2 separate regions of the Homo sapiens genome follow, and region 1 is linked to region 2. The links are contacts of gene promoters, found by promoter capture Hi-C in human tissues and cell types (Jung and others, 2019). All regions are on one chromosome and are shown on one strand. The core of a region is centred on a gene start or on the middle of the fragment in contact, and the rest is flanking DNA. Distances in the headings are between cores, read along the strand shown.

Region 1 (5,697 bases), core at 930-3,429, 78 kb before region 2:
AAGAAACTGAGGGAGAGGTATTGCTATTATAATTATTATAACATCAAGGGCCCTGTAATAAGGTGCAGTTGGCAGAGATCTCCATAAAGCGAGGGGGCAAGCCTGTAGATACGAATGATTACTTCTACTTCCTTTCTGGACCTGATACCAACTATACAGCCCATCTTAAATTAGTGATATTAGTGTGGCATTGAAATATATGCTTTAAAAATTTTGAGAATTAATGGACACACCCAGGGTGGAATGAATTATCTTTCTGAATTGAGCCATTACATGACCATTATGACACAAATTTAAAAATTCATAAGTAAATGACCATAATTCATTTGTAGTCACTTTCCATTTCTGCTGGGGCAGAATGTTGATGGAGGGTTGACAGAAATGCTGAAATATGCTTGAGTCAGGAAAGATCATCAGGTAGAAATATATCTGTAAGGTATGAAGATTTGATTTGGGCTTTTTCTCCCTAATTTGACTGAAAATTTCTAGAGGATAGAGTTGTGGTTTTTTTTAATTAATTTTTTTACTTCTTTATGTTTCCTAGTAAAAATTGCCTGAACTTCTCTCTATATTTATATTTATAAATATAAATATAATTTACACATATAAGTACATAATTTATAAATATAAGTTTATATATATAAGTTCATATAATTTTTACAAATATAAATTATATATAAATTATATACCTATATATTATATTATAGGTAGCAATATAACATTAAAATTAAGAGTGTGGGGGACTCTGGAGTCAGTCTGCATGGATGTGCTCTGCCATCAGCAACACCAGTTACTAGCTGTTTAAGCAAGCTACTTAACATTTCATGCCTCAATTTTCTTATTGATAATTAAAGTGATTATCTTATAACATTGTTTTAGATATAAAATATGTTAATACATACAAAAAACACTTAGAACCATGACTTGTCAGAGCAAATAATAAATGGCAATCGAAATTACTAGAACAGTTGGAAAATACTACCTATTTCTCACAAAGGAGTGACTTTTCTGTAATGTGTCATTCTAAAGGCTATGAAGTAGATGAGATAATAACAGAAAGGGTGTTGGCAGGGACAGAAGGCAACAACAGTTTGGACCCAACAGTGGTGTGAGAAGGAGAAATTTTATATATAAGGCTAATTTTAGGCTGTTCATCTCTTCCATCCCATGTCTTCACCTCCTCATCTGGAAAATAAAGTAGTCAAACTAGCTGATGTTCTAGATACATTCCAGCTTTAACTTTAAATGATTATGTGCTTAGCTTCAATGGGCACCAGTTCTTTGGTTGTTTTTTGTTTTTAATTGGAAACATGACCTGAAGTATACCATCTTGAGGGGTCCATCTAGTGCTAGAATTCTACAATTTTATGTTTCTTTGGAATGGAGAATTTTTATCACAGCTCTACGTATCTGTTTGGTTTTCACACTGTAGATGACAGGGTTCATCAAAGGGGAGATCAGCAGGTAGGTGTTAGCAATCATAGTATGTACATAGGCTGGGGCTTGTTTCCCAAATCTGTGAACAATGGACAGACTGATCAATGGAATGTAATATATAGCAAAAGCCACAATGTGGGAGACACATGTACTGAAGGTTTCCTTCCTCTCTTCTGGGGAAGCAACGCTAAGGACAGTCCTAATGATCAAAACATAAGAAAGGAGGATGAGAAGTAAGTCTACACCAACAGTAGAGAACATGGCAGTCAGCCCAACTGCACTGTTGATTCTGGTGTCTGTGCATGAGAGCTTCATCACATCAGGGTGGTAGCAGTAGGAGTGGTGGAGTACTTGGCTGTGGCAGTAGGAAAGTCTTATAAGAAGTGCTACCATTGGTGTCAGCATTAGGAGCCCCCTGATGACACTTGCCACTCCAATTTGAGCTATTCTGGAGTCAGTTAAAATCATGGCATACCTAAGGGGATTAGAGACGGCCACAAAACGATCAAAAGCCATGGCCAACAGCACTGAGGATTCCATGACAGTGAAGAATTTAATAAAGAACATGTGGGACAAGCAGGCATTAAAGCTGATTTCCCTCACATTGAACCAGAATATACTCAGCATGGTGACCAGAGTGGATATGGACAGGCCGAGGTCAGTGGCGGACAGCATGGAGAGGAAATAGTACATTGGTTCGTGGAGGCTGGGCTGAGTGATGGTAGCGAAGAGGATCAGGCTGTTTCCCAAGAGAGCAGTTACAGAGAGGAAGCAGAAGGGAATGGAGATCCAGGTGTGGAAGGCTTCCAGCCCAGGAACACCAGTGAGCAGGAAAATGATGGAAGTGGAGGTGATATTCTGCAAAGTTGACGTGATGAATTAAAAGTACAGAACGAGATGAGAGCTTAAACAAAAAAAAGCTACATTCATTTGTGTATTGATCGAATTAAAATAATTTTATTGTACAGAAAACTGATGAGTATTTATATAATATGAAACTATGAATGGCTCATTTAAATTGATTAAAAAATGTCAGATTTCAACTGCTGTAGTGGGCACTTTGGTTTGTTTTTGAATTTGCCTTAGTGTACAATCTTTCTTCTCTAGGGCCCTTTGCTGGCAGCTATGTTTATATCATGTGACCACTCCTCTGATCGTTCTAGCCATAGATAACCAAACTAAGAATAAACACTTTACCCTGAGTTTGCCAATCATATTTCATTCTTTATGGCATGTTTAAATTGTGCTAAAGAGGTAGTGCATTATTTTTCCTCTATGGTTGGCACCAGAGAAAAATACACTGGGGCTGTGGAACAGCAATATTACATTGGTCATAAGTGTGGAAAGCAGAGAAGCTTACAGACAATTTGGGAAGCCAGAAAATATGAAGAAAGAGATCATTATAATACAAAGTAACACATAGGAAGTGACAAATAAATGGCTTCAGCATCTAACCATTAAAGAAACCCTTACAATATGATACCCGGCATCATATTTGGAAGAGATGGTTAGAACACAGACCTCCCACCAGGCTTAGGAAGACAGGAGGCTGCCCCCACCTGATATAATGTGCTGCCACGTTCCAACACAGTTCTCTCTTCAGTCTGCTGGAAGACTAGTTCTCCAGAACAGAATCTCTCTATTTTGTTAAGACATACTTCTTAGGAGATACCTAATTGAATGTTACTGTTTTGTTTCGGAGGGAAAAATATAACTTTATTGCAAACATCACATTTCTTTTTTCATAGAGTAGAGAATTGCAGAAAGGTAGATAGATGGGTATGGTTGAGTTGAAGACGGGGGTCTAGGGAAAAACAGAGATTAGGGTTGTGGCTGCAGAGGGCTCAATCAATGAGAGAGAGCCAGTTGCAGGGTAACTTCTTCAGAGGAAAAGAAAGGGTGCTGGGTGGCTGACAGTAAGTGTTGACAAAAGAGAGGATGGAGAGGAACCTCAACGTATCCAGACTCACACATTCACCCTGATAAAGTGCCACCTCAAGGATCACCGGAAGAAGTCTTAGTGAAAAAAAAAGGGGGGGTGGGGGTGTGATTTAACTAAAATTAACAGAAAACTAGATGAAAAACAAGAAATTATAGATTACACGATTTGGCCAAATAATGAAACTATAGCTTTAGATTCTGAAATTTACAGTAATGACAGTGTCCTCAGGCGAGTGATGAAAATATCTAAAATGTATGATCAAACCTCTTAGAGAAATAAGAATTATAGTTAATGTATAGTATATTTCAAAAAAACTAAAAGAGAGAATTTTAAATGTTCACAGCACAAAGAAATGATAAATATTTGAGGTGATGGATATGATAATTAGCTTGATTTGGTCATTCCACAATGCATACATGTATAACAACATCACATTTTACCCCACAAATATATACCATATTATTTGTCAACTAGAAATAAGATAAAATGATTTTGAAAAACCAAAACACACTAAAAAGGAATTACCAGAAAGAGAGCATTCAGTAGGTTTGTAGTATTTGGAGAAGGCTTTCTAGAAAAAGCAGTGCTTGAAAGATTTCTGTGTTTTATGTAAGTTGAGACGAAGAATTCCCAGGCTTTCAGAACGGCATGTGTAAAAGTGTTGAGCAGGCTGGGCGCGGTGGCTCACGCCTGTAGTCCCAGCACTTTGGGAGGCCGAGGTGGGCGGATCACGAGGTCAGGAGATCGAGACCATCCTGGCTAACATGGTGAAACCTCGTCTCTACTAAAAATACAAAAAATTAGCCGGGCGTGGTGGCGGGCGCCTGTAGTTCCAGCTACTGGGGAGGCTGAGGCAGGAGAATGGAGTGAACCTGGAAGGCGGAGCTTCCAGGTGAACCGAGATGGCGCCATTGCACTCCAACCTGGGCGACAGAGCGAGACTCCGTTTCAAAAAACAAACAAACAAACAAAAAACTGTTGAGCAACAGTGCACTTGTAACACTTCTCTTGATCTTGCTTTACTATCTCAGGGACATTAACTGAGTATCTGGATCTTACATAGTGCTATTTTAGAAGCTAAAGGACAACACAAATAAAACCCCACTTAGAGAGTTTATAATCCAGTGAGGCAGAAAGAGCAGAACCGTTTTTCAATAATTTCAATATCTCATATACAGCGATGAATAATAAAAATGGTTATGAAAGTACAGAGGGGCTCCATTTATGTCAATTAATTCTGGCTTTCATGATTTTTAGTTCCTACGCAATATCTGAGTTGTAATTTTTGTCATTGTGTTGTAGGACATTTTATGTAACCACTTAAAAAAATTAAATTGCTATTTGAATAATTTCTCTTTCATCCTAACTTCTTCATATCTCCCATTACCTCATTTCAACAATTTATTCATTGCCTATTTTCATTCTTCTTGGTAGTTTTTTTCCTCCTTCTTGCCAAGAGATCATAAACAAAACAAAAGAAAACCATAGTGTATATATTTTGACCTGATCTGTGTTGGGCCTAGCAAAAAAAAAATGACTTCTCTCCTTTCCATCACTTTACAAGCATATCTTCCTGCATCCTTCCTACGTTCACGCTGGGCTCAGAGACAGAGGGTACCTTATTCTTTTTCCTAGCCAATAACTCCACTTTAGCTCCTATCAACCAGAAACACTTAGTTCAGTTCAAACTGAACTAAACTATACATATATATACGTGTATATATATATATACACACACATATATATATATACACACACACATATATACGTATATATATATACACACACACATACATATATATATACACACACACACACACACACACACATATGCAGGGAGCTGAGCTTGCTGTGTCAAGAGTCTAGGGACTCTTACTGAAAATAAAAAATGACTAATTTTAAATATCTACTACATGCCAGACAGCGTCTATCAGCAGTAACAGAAACAAACAGATAAATGCTACTAGTTGTAGAGTGTATAAGGATAGGATGTATCTAATTGATAAGGCAGAAGAGATAATAGTGTGGAGTGGCAGATTTGGAGTGTGTGCATACATGAATGTGTCTGTGTGTGTCAAGAAGAACTAGTTCCAAGAATGTTAACAGAATGTATGCTTTATAACTGTGTGAAGTTTTGATGGGTAAATGTGAGTTTATAAGGATGAAAAACAGGGGAAGTGTGCTTTTGCAGTGCCGTTGATAAAATGAGGAGAGACATGAATGAAAGAATAACATAAGCCAGTTTGTTGGATAACTACAAGAGAAGGGGTATATCGAAGTCTTAAATGTGAGGCTAGGTGCTGTGGGAAATGAAGCTA
Region 2 (5,819 bases), core at 1,395-3,894:
CAGCATGCACTTTTGGATACTCTTTCAACTCAGAAGTCAACATAAAGGGTAAAATTTTACTTTTATATTATGAATTATCACCCCAATAAGTCCATTATTTCATGACTTTTTGTTCATGTTGATGTTTTACACACACAAGATTTTAACCTTCGTGAGTGCACAGTAATATTTTTTATTGATCTTTTATTTTTTGTTGTTTCCCACGAGGTCAAACATAAAATATACCTACAGTCACTGTGTGCTGATAAACTGAATATTTAAAAACAGAAAAAGTTCTCAATGCTATTAAATTAAATTGAACAATGCTATTATATAAATATTTAAAAGAATTTTTACCAGTTCACATGGTATAAAAATTATCATTATCAGTGATTTCAAGCTACTAATATGACATCATATAATGCATAGTTAGATATGCAAAAATAGGCTCTTGCAAGCTGGTGTGTGCTCTCTCCAGCACACTGCTGCCCTCAGTATTTGTGGGGTACCTGGTACATTTCTTCCACCTATCACTATTTTTCCAATGGCAATAAAATTGATGTGACTGCCTTTAGGTTTCCATCTCCATTTCCCTCTGATTTTATTCTGCCATTATATGCAATTGACATTTTTAAGCTTCTGTCTGTCTCTTAAATCCAAAGAGTTACCATAAGTTCGTTTTCAGAAACCAAACATTTTGTGTCTGTCTCTGTAAAACTGTGTATAGGCAAGAACTATGAATTCTTTACCTTGGTTCTTTAGCTGGTTAAGGAGTCACATAGGTCTTTAATGGCATTTGTGAAAACTGTGAAAACTATGGAAAATAATGTGAGTATGTTTATCTATGGGGAAAGGTCCATAAATTTCATTAGCTTTCTAAGGGACCACAATGCAGAAAAAGGTTCAGAACATCTGCCCCAAACTTCCTTGTAATTTACTTTACATTCTTTTCTAGTTCTCTCAAGTTCCCATTCCCTGTGATAAATTAGCAAGTGTGCCTCACCCCTAAAGCTTTTCTTTGGACTGTCCAACACTGGATAGTGACTCACATGCCATGACATATCTATTCCTACCTTTTGTATTATGAATTATCCATGAAGAAAACAGCTAGAGTATATTCTAAGAAGGTTACTACAACTTTTTAAGACAAAGGATGGAACCATGGAGATCCAGGTCTTACTTTTGATCTTAAAACATTTCTGCTACATGACTTTGGCAGAGTATGTAATACAGTGATGAAGAGCATAGCATTTGAGATACAGAACACCTGGGTTCAAATCTCAACTGTGCCTCATGTTATTCACATGGCCTTTGGGGGCCTAAATGTCTATAAATCTGTTCCATCATCTGTAATATATCGCTAATAGTAATATATATTTCATTTCGCTGTTTTGGAAGAATAAATGGAATATGTCTTAAAAGCAGTTAGTAGAACACCTAGCCTGAAACAAAGAGTCAATACATGTTAATTGCCAGGAGTATTATTTATCATTTCATTATTGTTATTTTCCTAATTCCACTACAAATGTCTTGGGTGATATATCATACTTATATTTTATGACCAAATATACAACATATTTACTATTTGTTTGGTGAATGAAAAATATTTTAAAAACCCACATGCAATAGGCAGTAAGAGAGCAAGTTCGCTTTTCTACAGTGCAAGTCATTCATGCCAGGTTTGTATCAAATAAAACTATGTCTGTTCATTTTGTAAGCAGCAGACTGAGCATAGCCTTGCGGATTTGTTTTGTTTTTACACTGTCGATGATGGGGTTGAGCACAGGGGGTAAAAGCAGGTATACATTAGCCATCACTGAATGGACTACTCTGGGGGCTGACCGACCATAGCGATACACCAAGGACAGGCTCAGCATGTGGATGTAGAAGAAAGCAACTGCTCCCACATGGGAGACACAGGTGCTGAAGACCTTGTGCCATTCTTCAGGGGAGGCAATTCTGAGGACAGAGTGAATAATTAAGATATATGACAGGACAATGCATGGTGTATCTATTCCAGTGGTCAGGATGAGATCAATTAATCCACAGATGCTATTTGCCCGAATGTCTGAACATGCTAATTGAATCACATCTGGATGGTAACAATAGGAGTGAGAAAGGGCATTCATTCTACAGAAATAGAGAGGCTTAAGGAGCAAAAGTAGTGGCAATATTAGTACTATAGCACGTGTAATCATCAGAAGACCCATTTGAATGATTCTGGAATTAGTGAGAATGGTAGTGTACCTCAGAGGGTCACAGATGGCCACATAACGGTCAAAGGCTGTAGCCACCAGCACTCCAGATTCCATAAAAGTGAATCCATGAAGAAAAAACATCTGGACAATGCAGCTATATAGACTGATTTCACGTGCCTCAAACCAGAGGATACCTAATGTTGTTGACAATGAAGAAACAGTCAAGCCCAGATCAGTGGCTGATAGCCTGAAGAGGAAATAATACATGGGTTCATGGAGACTCTGCTGGGTAATGATGACAAACAGGATCACGCTGTTCCCAGAGAGGGCAATGGCATAAAAACAACAGAAAGGAATGGAGATCCAGACATGGGCAGACTCTAGGCCAGGAATGCCGGTCAACAAGAAGGTTGGAAATTTAGATGTTGAGTTGCTTAGGATTTCCATGGTGTCCTGGTTTTGCAGCATTTGTCCTCACAATGCTTCCATCCTATAGAAGTGATACATTAAGTGTTATGTAAAATATTTAGATACATTTTCTTTTAGTTAGTAGAGTTATCCAAGGTCATAGATAAGATCTGCATCATTGAGAAACCTTTAAATTAAATTATAATGTTCATCTACCACTCATAATCAGAAATAGTTCACAAAAATATGTTTTTGTACCATAAAATTCAAGGGAAATATGTCCATATGATTTTATACATTTTCATGATAGTGTCCATTTACAGAATATATTAAGATGCATCATATTGTAAGATTATTTGAATAAAGACTTAGCTGAGAAAAAATAAGTATCCTCAATTTTGAATATTTTGTGAGTACAATGAATAATAGCCACTTAAAAATATCCATGGTTCTTCAGTGACCATAAGGGTATGAGTCTGCAGACACAGATCTCCAGATATTTGCCAGGAATATAAAGTTATCAATGTATATTTATCATTTTCATCCAACACTATAGGTAAACAACTTCAGAGACTAGAATTATAAGAGAAAAACAATGAGGACAGAACTCTCCAGAAGACTGGAATGCACTATATACACTAAAGCAAGATGAGACTGGTTTTATGGGGACTATGAAAACCAAAAGAGGCTGGGCAGGTGGCTCATGCCTGTAATCCCAGCACTTTGGAGGCAGAGGTGGGCGGATCACGAGGTCAAGAGATCAAGATCATCCTGGCCAACATGGTGAAACCCCGTCTCTACTAAAAATACAAAAATTAGCTGGGCATGGTGGCGTGTATCTGTAGTCCCAGCTACTTGGGAGGCTGAGGCAGGAGAATCGCTTGAACCCAGGAGGCAGAGGTTGCAGTGAGCCAAGATTGCACCACCGCACTCCAGCCTGGTGACAGTGAGAGACTCCGTCTAAAAAAGAAGAAAAAAAAAAAACATGGTGTGAAGACCGGATGTTACATGAGCAGCTGTGTCGAATTGCTTGCGCTGTGAAGCCTAGTAAGGATTAAAAAATTCAAATGCAGCTGAGAGCCATTAGCGATCCCAGAAAAAACAGTGGAAAATTGAGAACCTGCTACAGTGTGGTAATGATGAAAGTATTAGCAGTGGAGGTACGGTTTATTTTAAGAAACTTGGCAGTGAAGGCAAGGGGAGAAGTAGGCCATGTCTAAAGAAGGGGTATCAGGTAGATGGAGAATTTTTGCAAGATGGGACAGAATTCGAGAAATTGATATGTTTATAAACGGAGGTTAAAAATGTAGCAGATAATGAGAAATTTAAAATATAGAATGTGAAGGATTTATTGATCTATAAAAGTCCTTAAGAAAGTAGTGGGTGATTAAGTGTAGAGCATGAGTAACCTTCAAAAAAATGAGGACCATCATTTGCACTGACACTAGTAAGTGTCAAATATGTAAGTTTGTGGAGAGTTATATAAGGAAATTGTTACCTTTTTCTCTGTGAAGTATTTGGGGGTAATTTACTGCTGTTCAAAAGTGTAAAGTGATGGCTGCTGGCTTCCGGATACAGTAGACGTTTTCAGGAGACAGCGAATGAGAAGGGCAATTGGCTCAGTAAACAGAAATGCTATATCGCCTCTTTCAAGTAAAATTCCAAGAATAATTTTGTCAATTAATATATTTATATTGTTCAAATCAATTCTGGGGAGAATTAAATTAAATAATAGCAGTATTCATGAGTATAATGTTAGTATTTTTCAATCAAGTCTTTAAAAAATTAGATGTGTCAAATTCATGAGAGTAAATATTCTGTAGCAAGGATACAAGTTACTGTTCCCTTTATGCTAGTATTCTGTGGTTTATTTTAAATCTCCAGTTGTCTGATTTTCAATTCAATCTGAGAAACATTATGAAAATATTTAAGTATGAATTATTAGAGGTTGTATATCTACATGTTATGTGGATCGATGAGGACAGGGCAAACCCTCATGATATCTGACTTTTCTATAAACCCATATGACTATTTGTGAATAGGTAACAAAGTAAAAGTCAACACGATAAATATATCTATCTCCCTTCTTACCAGCTTTACGTGGAAAGAGGAACCTTCTCTGTCTTTGCTAGATGAGGAAGGATAGACTACAGTTCTGGAGCCATGGACTTTATAGTAAGGTAGAATTGAGCTGTGAGATTATTTGTATGATTTATGTCTCTCTGCAGCCAAAGACAGAGCAAAAAAGAAACCACCCTCTCTCCCTATCTATAAAAATTAGAGGGCAGGAGTGTGTAATCCCAGAGGGTTTTAGTTACTAATCCAAGTAACCTGTGGTCCACAGGGACATTAAATGCAGAGGAAAATAAACCAAATTATGCATATAAATAGAAAATTTACACACTGTTCATAGCATTGGGGAATAGAGAGATGTACATCATTGTCTCTGGATTATAAGTGTACTGGCAAGATAGGAAAAGAAACCACTGTTCACTGGGATCATTATGGTCACAATAAAGAGGGAAAACTTTACACCCAGTCTCTAGGCTCCTATGCCTACATTTCCACATTGAACCATAGGGAGAATGATAGATGTCCATTCTCAAATCCATTCTTTTTCAAACACTGAGTTTTCCCCCAGTAAATGTGTCAGCTCCTGATATATTAATTTGGCCCTGTTTTGCTAGTAGCTAGGGTTACCATGAATGAATGATGTTCTCATGTGCATGTATTCTTACTCTGTTCCCTGCTGTTTTCTTGCATTAATACTTTCAAGCACCTGATTATTGAGAGAGTTTTTTCATTTTTGTCAGTGTAGGCAGTTGACTAATGGATGCAGACACTTTACAGTCTACTAATTCTAGGTTCATAAGAAAAGTCTCACATTCAAGCCTTTTGTTTCTCCTTTATAGAGAAGCTGCACATTTGTGGAGACAGTCTTGTTTTTGTTTAGGTATCAATAATACCAGTAATTTGTTCCTCACTCAGCTATTTTTCTTTGATTTCTACTCTGCTATTACTCCTGTGCATTCCTGTTCAAGTAATTTTAATGGCTGAAAGTGTGATGGGTTCAATTGAAGCACTATATCTCTACCCGGCATTCCCATCAACTGTTTTGACTAATACTTCCACGACAAAAATGAACTATAATCAAATCATTTTATAAGTCAGAAATAAATAATTAAAAGTTTCGCCTCTGTTGTCTTAAAGAGCTAACTATCTAGAGTTTTCACC

The links. The method cuts DNA at HindIII sites, captures the fragments that hold promoters and counts their contacts. A contact is called where the count stands out against the background at its distance.
Region 1: a contact is called between a fragment that was not itself captured here and the fragment with the promoter of OR51F1 in region 2, in 2 of the 25 tissues and cell types used here (H1 embryonic stem cells and pancreas).

The regions. Positions count from the first base shown.
Region 1 is chr11:4,689,393-4,695,089 of GRCh38, forward strand. The region is part of intron 1 of OR51E2 (olfactory receptor family 51 subfamily E member 2); the gene reads right to left. It overlaps OR51C1 (olfactory receptor family 51 subfamily C member 1), which reads right to left. Exons shown (of 2, transcript NM_001396051.1): 2 at 1,031-2,295. The coding sequence ends at 1,366. Among named protein-coding and RNA genes, the nearest start is that of OR51C1, 5.6 kb to the right of the region's middle. The HindIII fragment of the contact is 8,862 bases long and covers 1-5,697 here.
Region 2 is chr11:4,767,294-4,773,112 of GRCh38, forward strand. OR51F1 (olfactory receptor family 51 subfamily F member 1) reads right to left here and starts at 2,645. Exons shown (of 1, transcript NM_001004752.2): 1 at 1,686-2,645. The coding sequence starts at 2,645. The coding sequence ends at 1,686. It overlaps MMP26 (matrix metallopeptidase 26), which reads left to right. Exons shown (of 8, transcript NM_021801.5): 2 at 1-48. The HindIII fragment of the contact is 7,923 bases long and covers 803-5,819 here.